2 separate regions of the Homo sapiens genome follow, and region 2 is linked to region 1. The links are contacts of gene promoters, found by promoter capture Hi-C in human tissues and cell types (Jung and others, 2019). All regions are on one chromosome and are shown on one strand. Each heading gives the region's core, a stretch centred on a gene start or on the middle of the fragment in contact. The rest is flanking DNA. Distances are from core to core; before and after follow the strand shown.

Region 1 (2,799 bases), core at 128-2,627:
GAAATCCCTGGAAATTTACATTTTTAACGACCAATTACTTTGGAGTACAGCCTTGCACATGGATTGTTTTTACAAGGACTGTCAACCCACAAAAATGTTTTCAAACCTCAGTTTTGAGAGGCCTCTCTCAAACTGCGTGTTTTAATGAAAACTCATTTAAAAGCATTGATTGCATCTGACCATCTCATAGTCTTGGTCAGGTATTTTTTGAAGAATTACACATTGCTTGGCATTTGACCAATGCTAAGTGGGCCTACTGACATCACCAGCAATCTAGAAATTAGAATTATTTGATTCCATAGTTATGTTTGTAACTAAGAGATTGTTATTCTTTTATTTCAAAGCTACCCTAATGTCCTGCATGTCTCCAGTTTATCTGATGGAGCTGAACTAATCTGAGTATATTATGAACACAAGCAAGTAAGTTATTTTAAAAAATGAACCTACTTGTACTAAAAATTTACAGGTAGAAGGGTTGTCTACTAACCATATTACCTAGAACAGTGTGGATCTTTAGAAAGTTAAATTAAATGATGGTAAAAAATCACCTCTTACCAGGTGCAGCAAACACAAAATACAGTAAACAAACAAACATATCTTTGTGCTGTAATTTGTTACCAAAATATTCTTTGTGGGATTGTGGGATTTCCACTGCTTTTTTTTCTTCTCTCTCTCTCTCTCTCTCTCTCTGTGTGTGTGTGTGTGTGTGTGTGTGTGTGTGTGTGTGTGTGTGGTATGTTCTCCAGTCTCCAGAGATGTAGATTAGAATTTTAAATTAAAATGTTCAGATAACTAGTTACAATCAAATTTATCCCCAAGAGTGGAAGGAAAGTGCAATGGAGAAATTGTTTTGTAAATTAAAGACATTACTGCACAAGCCTAACATGATGTTACTGGGGATTTTAATGTTTTTACCTGCATTCAGATTAAAAGTCATCAGTTTTCCCTGTCATCAACAATTTATTTATTCATCCATTCTATTTTTATATTTTTATGGATTGATATACCCAACACTATACTAATTAACCCAATTTACAAGATAATCTATAATCTTATTTAGGTTAGAAGGGTTTTTTGGCAAATGTTCACTCTAGAAAACTGAGTTGTAAGAATATGGGTGATCTCAAATTTGTTTCTGTGTGTGTAAAAGGAAAGGCTTCATATCTAAAATGACTTTACCTCAGTATACTAAATTGTTTGAGGGTAATGAATGAGAAGAACACAACTGTAAAAGGGCCAAGGACAGAGGGATGGGCAAATGAAGGAAAGGCAGAGAGGGAGACCAAGAGCTGAGGGGGAAAATTCTGTGGAGGGGTGTGGGAAAGGGGTGGAGCTGGCACCCTTGCCTTAAAAGCTGAGTGATAGCCCAAGGGATACAAAAGACCGCTTGAGCCGGGTAGGGAAAGCAGCCTAAAGCCCGGGACAGGCACACAGGCCCAGGTGTGTAGGCCACAGCAGCTGCAGTCCTGAAAGGCTGCAACGTCCCGACCTCCAGGAGAGACCAGGCCCAGGATGCCTCGCCTGTTTTTTTTCCACCTGCTAGGAGTCTGTTTACTACTGAACCAATTTTCCAGAGCAGTCGCGGACTCATGGATGGAGGAAGTTATTAAATTATGCGGCCGCGAATTAGTTCGCGCGCAGATTGCCATTTGCGGCATGAGCACCTGGAGCAAAAGGTCTCTGAGCCAGGAAGATGCTCCTCAGACACCTAGACCAGTGGCAGGTGAGAGCTCCCGCCCCCTCCCGGCCTTCCCGCGCTTCCCATTGGTTACTCTGGGGCGGCCGCCCAATTGGAACGGCGGCCTGCACGTCCGACTCGAGATCTCATTGGCTGCCACCGCTCAGCCCCTACTCAGCCGTGGCTGGTCCCTAAAGTTTGGGCTTTTCCTTTGCCAGGTGATTTTATTCAAACAGTCTCACTGGGAATCTCACCGGACGGAGGGAAAGCACTGAGAACAGGAAGCTGCTTCACCCGAGAGTTCCTTGGTGCCCTTTCCGTAAGGCAGTCAGAGCGACGGGGTGGAAAGGGAGGGGAAGCCTCAGAGGAGGTGACGCCGCCCGGAGACCCGCAGGAGGCCGGGCGCACTCCTGCACCCCACAGGAAAGCCAGGCGGCCAGACAGCGGGCGTGCTGGTGGGGGCACCTGAACAGGGCTTCTCGGATAGAGAGGAGAGGGGACAAACACTGAGGCGGCGCGCTAGTTATCAAGCCTGTTTGCGCGCCTGTAGGACGGGGCAACACTCTGAGGTCTCTGTGAGGGTCCCGTGATGGGAAGACAGGAAGGGCCTTACACTTAATGACTCTCCTAGTCCAGAAGTTGGGCTGTGGCCTTTGCCATTGGAAACGTTCTTTAAAATAAACAAACAGAAAATCCCAAAGGAAAGAGTCTGACCTCCCGCTTCTTTGATCTGGGTATTGAAGTTCATTTGTGAGGCAGGGGATGGAAGAGAAAGGAAAGGCTTGAATGCCTTTAGGAGAAACTCAAGAGGACCAGAGACAAGGAAAGCAGGCCGTTCAGACCATCATAGCTGAAGACCCTACTGATGCTTTCAAGCATTTGGAAGCTGCAGTGGGTTTGCTTTAAAGGCAAGCTCTTAGAGTTGAGTACAGCTCAATCTGAAATGGCTTTTAAAAATATTTTAGTATTTATAAAGTAGCAGTGGAAACTCATGGAGGTATATACTAGTCTAAGAAGTGTAACGGGTCATATTAAATTCAGAGAAAGTAACCGCAGTTGCAAATACTAAGTGTTTTGTATTAGTATGACATGTAATTTATGATAAACCGCAACTAAATTTT
Region 2 (2,799 bases), core at 118-2,617, 130 kb after region 1:
TTTCTTGACTTTGTAATAATTGCTATTCTGACTGTCGTGAGATAGTATCTCATTGTAATTTTGATTTGCATTTCTCTAATGATCATTGATGTTGAGCTTTTTTTTCAAATGTCTGTTGGCTGCATGAATGCCTTCTTTTAAGAAATGTCTTTTCATGTCCTTTGCCCACTCTTTTTTTTTTTCTTTTGAGGTGGAGTCTTGCTTTGTCACCCAGGCTAGAGTGCAATGGCATGATCTCGGCTCACTGCAGCCTCTGCCTCCTGGGTTCAAGCAATTCTCCTGCCTCAGCCTCTCGAGTACCTGGGACTACAGGCACACACCACCACGCCCAGCTAATTTTTGTACTTTTAGAAGAGGCAGGGTTTCACTACATTGGCCAGACTGGTCTCGAATTCCTGACCTCAGGTATCTGCCCACCTCGGCCTCCCAAAGTGCTGGGATTACAGGCGTGAGCCACTGCACCTGGCCTGGCCACTCTTTAAGCGGATTGTTTGTTTTTTCTTGTAAATTTGTTTAAGTTCCTTGTAGATTCTGGATATTAGACCTTCGTTAAATGGATAGATTGCAAAAATTTCCTCCCACTCTGTAGGTTGTCTGTTCACTCTGATGGTAGTTTCTTTTGCTGTGCAGAAGTTCTTTAGTTTAATTAGATCTTATTTGTCAATTTGGGCTTTTGTTGCAATTGCTTTTGGTGATTTTGTCCTGAAATCTTTGCCCATACCTATGTTGTGAATAGCATTGCCTAGATCTTCTTCTAGGGTTTTTATAGTTTTGGTTTTACAGTTAAGTCTTTAATTCAGCTTGAGTTAATTTTTCTATAAGGTGTAGGGAAGTGGTCCAGTTCTCCCAGCACCATTTATTAAATAGCGGATCCTTTGCCCATTGCTATTTTTTGTCACGTTTGTCCAAGATCAGATGGTCATAGATGTGCGGTCTTATTTCTGAGTTCTGGAACAGAAATTCTATTGGTTTAGGTGTCTGTTTTTGTAACAGTACCATGCTGTTTTGGTTACTGTACCCTTGTAGTATAGTTTGAAGTCCAGTAGTGTGATGCCTCCCTTCAGCTTTGTTCTTTTTGCTTAGGATTGTCTTGGCTGTTTGAGCTCTTTTGGTTCCATACGACTTTTTAAATAGTTTCTTCTAGTTCTGTGAAGAATGTCGATGGTAGTTAGATGGGAATAGCATTGAAACTATAAATTACTTTGGGCAGGATGGCCATTTTCACGATATTGATTCTTCCTATCCATGAACATGGAATTTTTTTTTGTTTGTGTTCTCCCTTATTTCCTTGAGCAGTGGTTTGTAGTTCTCCTTGAAGAGGTCCTTCATGTTCCTCGCTAACTGTATTCATAGGTATATTCTCTTTGTAGCAATTGTGAATAGGAGTTCATTCATAATTCAGCTCTCTGCTTTCTTGTTCTTGGTATACAGGAATGTGTGTGACCTTTGCACGTTGATTTTGTATCTTGAGACTTTGCTGAATTTGCTTATCAGCTTAAGAAGCTTTTGAGCAGAGATGATGGTGTGTTCTAGATGGGGTGTCTATGTTTGCATGTCATCTGCAAACAAAGACAATTTGGCTTCCTCTCTTCCTATTTGAATACCCTTTATTTCTTTCTCTTGCCCGATTGCCTTGGCCAGGACTTCAGATACTATGTTGAATAGGAGTGATGAGAGGGCATCCTTAACTTGGGCCAGTTTTCAAGGGAATGAATCCAGCTTTACCCATTCAGTATGATATTTGGCCGTGGGTTTGTCATAAATGGCTATTATTTTGAGGTATGCTCCATCAACACCTGATTTATTGAGAGTTTTTAACATGAAGGGATGTTGAATTTTATGGAAGATCTTTTCTGCATCTATTGAAATAATCTTGTGGTTTTTGTCTTTAGATATGTTTATGTGATTAATTACATTTATTGATTTTGTATATTTTGAACCACCCTTGCACCCTGGACATGAAGCCAACTTGATCGTGGCAGATAAGCTTTTTGATGTGCTGCTGTATTTGGTTTGCCAGTATTTTATTGAGGATTTTTACATTGGTGTACTTCAGGAATATTGGCCTGAAGTTTTTTTGTTGTTGTATCTGTCAGGTTTTGGTATCAGGATGATGCTGGCCTCATAGAATGAGTTAGGGAGGAGTTCCTCCTTTTTGATTGTTTGGAATAGTTTCAGAAGAAAGAATATCAGCTCCTCTTTGTACTTTTGGTAGAATTCAGCTGTGAATCCATCTGGTCCTGGGCTTTTTTTGGTTGGTAGACTATTTATTACTGCCTCAATTTCAGAACTTGTTATTAGTCTATTCAGGGATTCAACTTCTTCCTGGTTTAGTCTTGTGGGGGTGTATGTGTTCAGGAATTTATCCATTGTGTCTAGATTTTCCGGTTTATTGGTATAGAGGTGTTTATAGTATTATCTGATGGTTGTTTGTATTTCTGTGGGGTCAGTGGTGATATCCCCTTTATCCTTTTTATTGTGTCTATTTGATTCTTCTTTCATTTCTTTATTAGCCTACCTAGTGGTCTATTTTATTAGTTTTTCCAAAAAAAAAAAAAGCCCCTGGATTCATTGATTGTTTGAAGGGTTTTTCGTGTCTCTGGTCTCCTTCAGTTCTGCTCTAAGCTTGGTTATTTCTTCTCTAGTTTTGGGGTTTGTTTGCTCTTGGTTCTCTACTTCTTTTGGTTGTGACGTTAGGGTGTTGATTTGAGATCTACCTTTTTGATATGGGCATTTAGCGCTATAAAGTTTCCTGTTAAGACTGCTTTAGCTATGTCCCAGAGATTCTGATACGTTGTT

What was found. Contacts are between HindIII fragments. The study calls those that stand out against the background at their distance.
Region 2: a contact is called between a fragment that was not itself captured here and the fragment with the promoter of RLN2 in region 1, in 1 of the 25 tissues and cell types used here (heart left ventricle).

The regions. Positions count from the first base shown.
Region 1 is chr9:5,303,294-5,306,092 of GRCh38, reverse strand. It overlaps RLN2 (relaxin 2), which reads left to right and starts at 1,377. Exons shown (of 2, transcript NM_134441.3): 1 at 1,377-1,723. The coding sequence starts at 1,513. RefSeq lists an enhancer at 1,452-1,501. The HindIII fragment of the contact is 20,018 bases long and covers 1-2,799 here.
Region 2 is chr9:5,170,316-5,173,114 of GRCh38, reverse strand. All of the region lies in intron 1 of INSL6 (insulin like 6), which reads left to right. Among named protein-coding and RNA genes, the nearest start is that of INSL6, 14 kb to the left of the region's middle. The HindIII fragment of the contact is 3,731 bases long and covers 1-2,799 here.